2 separate regions of the Homo sapiens genome follow, and region 2 is linked to region 1. The links are contacts of gene promoters, found by promoter capture Hi-C in blood cells and fetal thymus (Javierre and others, 2016). All regions are on one chromosome and are shown on one strand. Each heading gives the region's core, a stretch centred on a gene start or on the middle of the fragment in contact. The rest is flanking DNA. Distances are from core to core; before and after follow the strand shown. Region 1 holds the start of FBXW5 (F-box and WD repeat domain containing 5). Region 2 holds the start of LCN8 (lipocalin 8).

The links. Contacts are between HindIII fragments. The CHiCAGO score rates a contact against its expected background, and 5 or more counts as called.
Region 2: a fragment that was not itself captured here is called in contact with the fragment with the promoter of FBXW5 in region 1 in 2 of 17 cell types (endothelial precursors and erythroblasts); the score reaches 6.9 in endothelial precursors.

The regions. Positions count from the first base shown.
Region 1 is chr9:136,940,677-136,945,987 of GRCh38, reverse strand. FBXW5 (F-box and WD repeat domain containing 5) reads left to right here and starts at 1,250. Exons shown (of 9, transcript NM_018998.4): 1 at 1,250-1,394; 2 at 1,882-2,097; 3 at 2,482-2,639; 4 at 3,045-3,219; 5 at 3,293-3,441; 6 at 3,522-3,942; 7 at 4,304-4,451; 8 at 4,525-4,737; 9 at 4,817-5,311. The coding sequence starts at 1,905. The coding sequence ends at 5,060. It overlaps C8G (complement C8 gamma chain), which reads right to left and starts at 745. Exons shown (of 7, transcript NM_000606.3): 1 at 530-745; 2 at 218-354; 3 at 1-59. The coding sequence starts at 667. RefSeq lists silencers at 1,207-1,786, 2,167-2,236 and an enhancer at 2,072-2,837. The HindIII fragment of the contact is 9,073 bases long and covers 1-5,311 here.
Region 2 is chr9:136,753,532-136,758,842 of GRCh38, reverse strand. LCN8 (lipocalin 8) reads left to right here and starts at 600. Exons shown (of 7, transcript NM_178469.4): 1 at 600-936; 2 at 1,675-1,805; 3 at 2,251-2,321; 4 at 3,327-3,431; 5 at 3,510-3,599; 6 at 3,683-3,708; 7 at 4,334-4,457. The coding sequence starts at 913. The coding sequence ends at 4,345. RefSeq lists an enhancer at 396-585. The HindIII fragment of the contact is 243 bases long and covers 3,196-3,438 here.

The sequences.
Region 1 (5,311 bases), core at 1-2,500:
AGCGGCCGAGGACCCCTGTGTCTCCATAGAGCTGGCGCACCTGCCAGCAGATCCCATCCCTGGGGGGGCGGGGAGGAGGCACCACAGGCTGGGAGACCCCAACCAGGAATCCTAGTCCAGGCCACAGCCGGGGTGGGGTCAGGGGCCAGAGCAGGGCTGAAGTCCGGGGGCTGAGAGGAGGGTTGGGGTTAGGGTGCAGGGCTGCTCTGGGACTCACAGCTTTCGGAAGGTACTGACAGCCATGGCTGTGCCCTGGGGAGCCACATGCAGTGTGGTGGCCTCGGCCCGGTGGCCCTGCTCCTGCAGGAAACGGCAAGCGGAGCCCACAGCCACAAGGAGCCAGGTCCCTGCAAACTGGGGGCAGACCATGGGAGAACTCGAGGGCACTGTGGGAGGGCCCCTCACCTGCTTCCCTCTACACCCCCCACAACTTCACCTGCTTCCCTCTCCCCCGCAACAACTTCTACCTGTCTCCCTCTACCCCTCCCACAACTTCTACCTGCCTCCCTCTACCCCCCCCAACTTCTACCTGCTGAGCATCAAAATTGGCCTTGGGCTGGATGGTGCTGATGGGGGATGCGGGCCGGCGTGGCCTCTGAGGCTTCTGGCCCAGCGAGCCAGCTGCCAGGAGCAGAGTCAAGAGGGTCGCAGTCCCAGGGGGCAGCATGGTGGCGGCAGCAGGGTGGCAGGACTGTGGGAGGCCAAGGGTAGCACCACCAAGTCCCAGGACAGAGTCTACTCTGCTGTCACAGAGCCCAGCCCAGGAAGTCCATGTCCATCCGTTGCCTCCCCACCCCCCACCTCCAGCCTCCTCGTGAGCCTAGCTTCGATCTGCACTTCCTGGCAGGGCCCTGGCACCATGTCCTATGTACAAAGTCCGAGTTGACCTCTGGCTGTTTATCCATTTCTCCTGCACCCCTGATTTCCACCGACAGTCCTTAGCCCTTTACACGTTATCTTCCTTAAACCATCACCCAGTGGTCTTATCTCCATGGCCAACGTCACGGGGTTCATGAAGCCACTTGCTCAGGGCCCGGCAACAGGGAGCGCCGGAGGCGGGTCCCGAACCAGCGTTCGTTGAGCCTCGCCTGCAACCCCGCCCACGACCGCCGCCCGCTGGCCACAAGGGGCGCTGTTCCCAATGCGCCCGAGTGCGCGCAGGCGCACAAAGAAAAGCCGGCCAGGCCGCCGGAGCCCAAGGCGCAGGCGCACGAGGGGCGGATGCGGGCTACCCGCGCGCTCTGCCTTCCTCGGCCATCGATGCCTCGGGGCTCGTGGCGTCGGGCCTGGCGGGCTCCCCGTTGGGCGGGGGCGGCGGTCCGAGCGGCTGCGGCAGCGGAAGCGGGTCCGGGTCGCGCAGGGCGGGGGCGGCGCAGCGGGCGGAGGCGGCCGTGGTGAGTGCGCCTGCGGCCCTCGGGGGTCCCGCCTTGTCGTCCCCGCCCGCCTTGGGCGAGTGCAGGAGCCCCGAGGCCGCCCGTGCGCTCGTCCCCGCCGTCCGCCCCGAGCCCGCCGGGCAGAGCTGCTCCAGGGCCGCAGGGCGGAGGCCACTGCCTGGCCGCCCCGAGCTTCCTCTCGGCGGAAGCCCGTCCCCGGACGGCGCCTGGTGTCCCCGTGCCTCGCGTGCGGCGGTCCGGGCCCTGGCGGGCTGAGGGGCGCCCGCTGCCGGCCGCAGGAGGCCGGGGGATGACGCGGCGGAGAGGGGCCGGCCCGGCCCGCCCGGAGCTGCCGGGTCCTTGGTTGGGCGGCGGTACCCGGGCGTCCCCTGCAGACACGCAGCCCCGTGGAACTCCCGGCGGGACGGTTGGGGCTGGAGGAACAGGACGCCCGCTCTCGGCCTCCCTTCCCGGGCCTGGGCTGAGGGCAGCCGTTGGTGGGTTTCAGGGCCGCCTGGGCAGAATGTCACGATGGACGAGGGCGGCACGCCCCTGCTCCCCGACAGCCTGGTCTACCAGATCTTCCTGAGCCTGGGCCCGGCCGACGTGCTGGCCGCCGGGCTGGTGTGCCGCCAATGGCAGGCCGTGTCGCGGGACGAGTTCCTGTGGAGGGAGCAGTTCTACCGCTACTACCAGGTGGCCCGCGACGTGCCCCGACACCCAGGTCAGTGGCGTGTGGGGCCCCTACCCACGTTCTGCAGCCAGGGCCCCGGGCCCCTGCGCTTGGGGGTCAGCCTGGCTGGGGGCCCGCCCCGCGGCCCCGCGTGTCCATGCTCACCCCCCCACACCCTGATAGAGGCCTGTCAGGACACAGCGCAGGCGCCCCTCAGAGCTTGGAGGCCAGAGGGTTCATTGGGTCACTTGGGGGGTGGGGGGTACAGGGGTCTCTGTGAGCTACAGGGTTGAATCCCCCAGCCGAGGCCTATGCCATGACTAGTGGGTTCCAGGGGCACCACGGGGCCTGCCAGGACTGCTGGGGCCACACTCGGCTCATGGCCGTGACTGCGAGGAAGGCCCGGGCCCAGGACTGACAACTGCCCACCCGCAGCGGCCATGTCCTGGTACGAGGAGTTCCAGCGGCTGTATGACACGGTGCCCTGCGTGGAGGTGCAGACGCTGCGGGAACACACAGACCAGGTCCTGCACCTCAGCTTCTCCCATTCCGGGTACCAGTTCGCGTCCTGCTCCAAGGACTGCACTGTGAAGGTGAGGACGGCCAGGTGTCCTGCACACCCCACCCAGCTCTGCCGCAGCACGGAGGTCCCAGGACCCAGGCGTTCCAACCAGGTGGTGGTGGGGGGGGGGGTGGGTCAGGCCAGAGGTGACAGCAGCCTCCCTGCATCCAGCGGAGGGACCACAGAGGATCAGGAGCGGTGCAGGGTGGCCCTGAGTGCTGAGGAGAGGGTCCCACACACAGCCGCCTGCTTCAGGGGCAGGCTCCTCCGCTCTATACCAATGCCCCCCGAGTGGATGACAGTGGCTGGAAGGGGTCCCTGCTCCCTGGTGGCCTCTGAGTAGGGCTGGCAGAGCTGGGGCCTCATGGCTGTGTAGTAGCAGGCCCCCGCCCCGCGACCTGGCCAGGCGATCACTACAGCCGCCCCTGCCGAACAGATCTGGAGCAACGACCTGACCATCTCGCTGCTGCACAGCGCGGACATGCGGCCCTACAACTGGAGCTACACCCAGTTCTCCCAGTTCAACAAGGACGACTCGCTACTGCTGGCCTCGGGGGTGTTCCTGGGGCCGCACAACTCCTCATCCGGCGAGATTGCTGTCATCAGCCTAGGTGAGCACGGGCGGCGGGTTGACCCTGCCCCCGCCCCACGCCGACAGCCTGTCCAGCCCCGGCCTCCCCACAGACTCCTTCGCGCTGCTGTCCCGCGTGCGGAACAAGCCCTATGACGTGTTTGGCTGTTGGCTCACCGAGACCAGCCTCATCTCGGGGAACCTGCACCGCATCGGAGATATCACCTCCTGCTCGGTGCTGTGGCTCAACAATGCCTTCCAGGTGCGTGCGGGGCTAGGGGCGGGGCTGCCCTCCTGGGGCCTGGCGCCCGGCGCCCACCTGGCACGTGCCCCCGCCCCCAGGATGTGGAGTCAGAGAACGTCAACGTGGTGAAGCGGCTGTTCAAGATCCAGAACCTCAATGCCAGCACCGTCCGCACGGTGATGGTGGCCGACTGCAGCCGCTTCGACAGCCCTGACCTGCTGCTGGAAGCCGGTGACCCGGCCACGTCCCCCTGCCGCATCTTTGACCTGGGCAGCGACAACGAGGAGGTGGTGGCTGGCCCGGCCCCCGCCCACGCCAAGGAGGGCTTGCGGCACTTTCTGGACCGCGTGCTGGAGGGGCGGGCGCAGCCACAGCTGTCGGAGCGCATGCTAGAGACCAAGGTGGCCGAGCTGCTGGCCCAGGGCCACACCAAGCCACCCGAGCGCAGTGCCACAGGCGCCAAGAGCAAGTACCTCATCTTCACCACTGGCTGCCTCACCTACTCCCCACACCAGATCGGTACACCCCTGCCGCCATGCTGCCCGCCTCGGTCCTAGGAGCTTGGGGGAGGCCGGGCAGGGGTCCTGAGGGGCAGACAGCAAGCAAGTCCACAGGCAAAGCTGGGATCGTTCACTCGCCCCTGGGGTCACAAGCCCAGACCTGGGGCCTGTGGGATGAGCAGTGAAAACAAACGCAGGCAGGGCCGCTGGCCAGCAAGCAACCGACGGGCCTGATTCAGGTCTGGGGCCCCCGGAGCAGGCAGTGCCCACGGACCTCTGTGGTGCTCACAGCCCCAGAGACACCACTGAGGTAGGAAGCTGCCCTGGAGTGATGTCCTTGGGGCATTGGACAGGGACCCTCACCGTAGCCCTCCCTGCAGGCATCAAGCAGATCCTGCCACACCAGATGACCACGGCAGGGCCCGTGCTGGGTGAGGGCCGGGGCTCCGATGCCTTCTTCGACGCGCTGGACCACGTCATAGACATACACGGACACATCATCGGCATGGGCCTGTCGCCCGACAACAGGTGGGCCTCTTGCCAGTGTCCCAGGCGGGGTGCCCGCAGGCGGCCCACACCTAGCACAGTGCCCCTCGCCCAGGTACCTGTACGTGAACAGCCGCGCCTGGCCCAACGGTGCGGTGGTGGCCGACCCCATGCAGCCGCCACCAATCGCGGAGGAGATTGACCTGCTGGTGTTCGACCTCAAGACCATGCGGGAGGTGAGGCGGGCTCTGCGTGCGCACCGCGCCTACACGCCCAACGACGAGTGCTTCTTCATCTTCCTGGACGTCAGCAGGGACTTCGTGGCCAGGTGCAGGGCGCGGCGTGGTGCAGGGCGGGTGTGGGCAGCAGCGGGCGGGCGGCCGGCTCACCCAGGCGCTGTTCTGCAGCGGGGCGGAGGACCGGCACGGCTACATCTGGGACCGCCACTACAACATCTGTCTGGCCAGGCTGCGGCACGAGGATGTGGTCAACTCAGTGGTCTTCAGTCCCCAGGAGCAGGAGCTGCTGCTCACGGCCAGCGACGACGCCACCATCAAAGCCTGGCGCTCCCCACGCACCATGCGCGTCCTCCAGGCACCTCGCCCACGGCCTCGCACCTTCTTCTCCTGGCTTGCCAGCCAGAGGCGCTGAGGTGTGCTGGGTGCACTGGAGCCACCGGGACCCCTTGAGGACATCGCCAGGCTCTGTGGCTTTTTCCCGAGCGGGAGAGGTGGAGATGCTTATAGCAGTTACGCCTTAGGAAGGGGACAACCAGGCCCCGCCACACGCTCACACACAAACCTGCTCACGCAGCTGTGATGCTTGGCACGGGGTGGCCAGTGCAGATGGAGCCCAAGGCCCCCTCGGCCTCCTGGGCAACTTGGGGTACACAGGATACTGGG
Region 2 (5,311 bases), core at 2,068-4,567, 190 kb after region 1:
CGGGCGTGGTGGCGCACACCTGTAGTCCCAGCTACTCAGGAGGCTGAGGCAGGAGAATCGCTTGAACCCAGGAGGCAGAGGCTGCAGTGAGCTGAGATTGTGCCACTGCACTCCAGCCTGGGCGATGGAGCAAGACTCTGTCTCAGGAAAAAAAAAAAAAGAAAAAAAAAATCAAGAAACCGAGGCACAGAAGGGTTGGGTAACTTATCCAAGGCTGCACAGCCAGGAAGAGGCCAGGCGGGCTGCAAGCCTGGGTGATCAGGCTCCAGGGCCGGGCTCCACACTGCCCCCGGGTGGTGATGCCTGGTGCAGCAGAGGCCCTCCCCACTGTCACTGTCACTCTGGTCGCTGGCGCTGTGCCTCCGGCCTCCGGAGCTCTGACTGCCCACTGCGTCTGGCACACATTTCAAAGGGCCAGGCGTGGGGTGGCACAGGAAAGTGCTGGAGGCTCTGGTCCGTTGCCCATCAGTGCCCACAGCCCTCGCAGCGCAGGCCAGAACGAGCCCAAAAAAACAAGTGTCATGTGGGGTGGGGGTCACCGAGCCCCAGGTGGTGTGGGTGGAGCTCCTCTTCCTCTCAGGCTCCGAGACGGCCCCAGCAGCGTCCACCGCTGTCCATATGCCAGGAGGGTGGCTGGGCAGGCTGCTGTCTAGGCCAGGCTAACCCCTGCGGTGGGCGTGGGTGTCACCAGGGCCGATGGCGCTTGTGCAGAAACCCACGTCTCTGAGCTGCCAGCAGCCAAGCTGTCCTGATGACATTCCCGGGTGGGCGCACAAGCCTGCACTGTCCGTATAGAATCGGCCCAGGCTGTGCAGCAGGGGAACCCGGAGCCCGGACCCCGCCACGGAGGCCAGGCTGCCGTGCACCATCCTGGGTGTCCTCGTGGTGCTCCGGGCGCAGGTGGCAGCAGCCATGGAGGAGCTGGACCGGCAGAAGGTGGCTTCTCCTTCTTAGTTGGTGGGGCTCCTCCTACACCCCCAACCCCTCAGGCTCAGGGAAGGAGGCCTCTCCCGGTGTGGGGAGCTCGTGGGGACGCTGGTGCCCGGCTAGACACTTCCTGTTAGCGGCATTTTCTTCTCCGCTGAGTCTGTGCCGGCTGCTGGGCCAGAGGCACATTAGCAGGCCCAGAGAAGGTAGATGCCGGAGACGAAGATTCTTTCCTCCCGAAAATGGTAGGGTTTTTAAAAGTCTCAGCGGAAGTCCCGGCTCTGGGCGGGTTGCTGAGGGCAGGAGGCCCATCCTCTGGCGTGGTTGGCAGGCTGGCGAGCTGCGCTACCCGAGCCACCTGTTCTCTGGCGTTTCTCACTCCGCCGCGCCCTGCGGGCTTTCTTTTCCAGGCCTCTGCTCCTGGGTCCTGCCTCCGAGGTCAGGCAGGGCCTGTGGTTCCTCCCGACATGTCGCAGAAGCCCTAGGGACTGTTCCGCAGCTCTAGATGGCCCAGTGGGGAGGGGCTGCCCTGTGGGCATTGCTGTCTGATGGCCTGAAGGCACCGCTTGGAGGGACACATGCCTGGGGACAGTGGGCTCACAGATGTCTTGCTGCTTTGCCACCGAGCCTCACAGCCATCTGCTGACCTCTCAGAGCCCAGCAGGCCCCTGCCCGGGGGTTCGTGGAATGCCCCTGGGGGTCTCAGACCCACTGCTCAGCTCTTGGCCAGGCTCCGTATCTCTCTAGATTGGAGGATTCTGGAGGGAAGTCGGTGTGGCCTCCGATCAAAGCCTGGTGCTGACGGCCCCGAAGCGGGTGGAGGGCTTGTTCCTCACCTTGAGCGGGAGTAACCTGACCGTGAAGGTTGCATATAACAGGTAAGAGGCCTGGGGGCTGCTGGAGAGGAAGAGGCATGCATGGCCGGGGACTGGGCGTGGGTTGCTGCACCCGCTGCAGCGTGGGGTCTGGGCTGAGTGCCGTCCCGCTGGTGGGCCAGCACTCCCGGTGCCCGTCTGCCTGAGCCCTCGACCCCCAGGCTCCTGGATCTGCATTTTATCCCAAATATAAGCATAGTGTTTTAATGAAGCCCCGTGAACTTAGAAGGAAGGAAAAGGGGTGTGGGACAGGTGACTGGCTGGAGGGAACAGAATCCCCAGGGGAAGGCCCCACCTGGCACATTCCCCGCCTCATCCTGCTCCAGGCCTGGGATACTCCACAGTGCTGCCTGTGCCCTTCCTAAAGACACAGCCCCACTCCGGGAAGGAGCCCAGCAGGCGGGACACAGGCTAGCATTTTACCGATGGGCACTTTGCTGCCTTTCAGCTCAGGAAGCTGTGAGATAGAGAAGATCGTGGGCTCAGAAATAGACAGTACGGGAAAATTCGCTTTTCCTGGTAAGTGCAGTTGCCCTGTGATGGCAGGTGGAACCCGGCTGTGCACACAGCTAGGCCTTATTGTTCCCCATGCTGTTCCCTGCACTGTTCCCCATGCTGTTCCCTGCACTGTTCTCTGTGCTGTTCCCTGCACTGTTCCCCATGCTGTTCCCTGAACTATTCCCTGTGCTGTTCCCCATGTTGTTCCCTGCACTGCTCCCTGCACTGTTCCACATGCTGTTTCCTGCACTATTCCCCATGCTGTTCCCTGCACTTTTCTCTGCGCCATTCCCCATGCGTTCCCTGCACTGTTCCCTGCACTGTTCCCCATGCTGTTCCCTGCGCTGTTCCCCATGCTGTTCCCTGCACTGTTCCTCATGCTGTTCCCTGCGCTGTTCCACATGCTGTTCCCTGCGCTGTTCCCCATGCTGTTCCCTGCACTGTTCCCCATGCTGTTCCCTGCAATGCTCCCTGCACTGTTCCCCGCACTGCTCCCTGCACTGTTCCCCATGCTGTTTCCTGCACTATTCCCCATGCTGTTCCCTGCACTTTTCTCTGTGCCGTTCCCCATGCATTCCCTGCACTGTTCCCTGCACTGTTCCCCATGCTGTTCCCTGCAATGCTCCCTGCACTGTTCCCCGCACTGCTCCCTGCACTATTCCCCATGCTGTTCCCTGCACTTTTCTCTGTGCCGTTCCCCATGCATTCCCTGCACTGTTCCCTGCACTGTTCCCCATGCTGTTCCCTGCACTGTTCCCCATGCTGTTTCCTGCACCGTTCCCCATGCTGTTCCCTGCAGGGTTCCCTGCACTGTTCCCCATGCTGTTCCCTGCACATTTCATGCCCCAGACCTTCCCATTCTCCCACCAACACACTGGATCATCCTTCAAAAGCTTCTGTAGTGTCTCCAACCACTCAAGTGCTGGGACTGGGTGGGGGCAGGATGGAGTTAGACCCTGCAGACCCTGGCCTTCGAGGTCCGTCCCCCTCAGACGTCTCCCCCAACGCCATGGCCGGCTCTTGAAGGCCACAGAGAGATCCACGTGCTGGACACCGACTACGAGGGCTACGCCATCCTGCGGGTGTCCCTGATGTGGCGGGGCAGGAACTTTCGCGTCCTCAAGTACTTTAGTAAGCTTGGCCCTGGGGGGCTCTGCCCAGCTGCTGCTCTCCCAGGGACTGCCCGCCCAGCCCCCCTGTGCCCCACAGCTCGGAGCCTTGAGGACAAGGACCGGCTGGGGTTCTGGAAGTTTCGGGAGCTGACAGCAGACACTGGTCTCTACCTGGCGGCCCGGCCTGGTGAGCCCAGGGGCCTTGGGGTGGAGGCTGGGCTGGGCCCTGTGGGCTGACTCTGCAGCTCCTCATGCTGGCCTATCCTGCAGGGCGGTGTGCCGAGCTCCTGAAGGAGGTGAGCCTGACCCCCGACCCTGGCCTGTGCTGAAGTTCCCGGGCCCCTGGCCCAGTCCCTGGCCCTGTCAGGAGCCCCCGTGGCTCCGCCTCCCGGCCCTGGGCTGGGCCTTCTCACCCCTTCCTGTGAACAGGACACCAAACACCACTGGTGGGCAGCTCCAGAGATGAGTCTGTCTCCTGGTTTGGAAAGAGCTGGAACCTCCAGGGTGGTGACCCTAGGCTGCCAGGCAGGGACCCTGGGAGGCTGGGGTCACGGGGTGCAGAGCTGGGTGGGGCAGGGGAGCAGAAATGGCGCCTTTTCTTCGGTGTTCTGTGCAGGACTGCCGGCTGCTTCTGCCCCCGAAGGTCCCGTCGGCGGCGGGGCACAGATCCTGCGGGCGCTGCCTCAGGGCTCCCATGTTGGGCACTGCGAGAACCCAGTGTCTCCCTCACCTCGCTTTGTCTTGGCCCTAGAGGCTGGGCCTGTTACCCCATTTTGCAGATTGAGAAGGCGCTCAGGGAGCTGGGTGCTTTGCGCAAAACCAGGCAGCGAGGACAGAAGTCCCGCCGTGTGGCCCTCATCGAAGCCCCGTGGGGCCTCCAGAGACCACACGGGCCTGAGCCCCTGCACTTCTGTGTCGCAGGAGCTGATTTAATGGAGTTCCTGCCTCAGACCACAAGGTTCGGAGCGCCCGCCCACCCCTGCCCCTCCTGGGCACCCTGCCCACCAGGTCACCTGCACCTGCTCTGAATAAACTGTGAAGTCAAGCCACTGCCTGGTGTGTCCTTCCGGAGGGCCGATGGGTGACAGGTGTGGGGGGACTCACCCGCCCCAGGTCTGGCAACAGGAGGTGTGTTTTCCGTGGTTACTGGACAAACAGTGCAGCTCACGTGCAAGGCAGCAACCCCTGCCCTCCCGCCCTGCTAGGGTCGTGGTCAGGCTGCCCCAGGGTATAGACCAGAGACAGAAACAGGGCTCCTGGTGGAGTCTCAGCAGGTCTGTCAAACGCATGGAGGCCACACCCCTCCTGCCTGCATCCTCCATGGCTCCCCACTGCCCAGGGCTCCAGGCTCACGGCCCGTGCTGAAGGCCCTACCCGATGGGCCCCGCTTCCAGCCTCCCTGGACCCCCAGCTGCCCAGCCCTGCTCAGTGTCCGCTTCCACAGTGGGCTGTCACCCCGTGGCCTCGGCTGCCACCAGCCGACTGCATCACTTTCTCCTCCCGCCTGGCCTGGGACACGGGAAGGGCAAGGAAAGTGACAGTGTCAGCCCGGAGGTTCTGCGCCCAGGCCCCTGGGGAATCAGCCGGTCCCCACATATGCAGGTGAGACAACCCAGGCTTATGAGGGTGGCTGCCTCGTCGGGGCGGCGGAAAATGATACCTGAGGTCGAGTGGTGCCGGGAGCTCTGGGGGAACAGCCCGAGTAGGGGGACCTCGCCAGCCCCCAGCACGGCCGGGACACTGGAAAGGCCCTGCTAGGAACAAGGGCTGCACCCTAGATGCGCCTCAAATCCAGAACTGTGCCCCCGAGACCCACAGGAGGGACATGTAGAGGCTGCATTCTGACAAGTTAGGGGCTCCTGGGAAACAGCCGTGACTTTGCGCAGCTGTGCCTGGCCG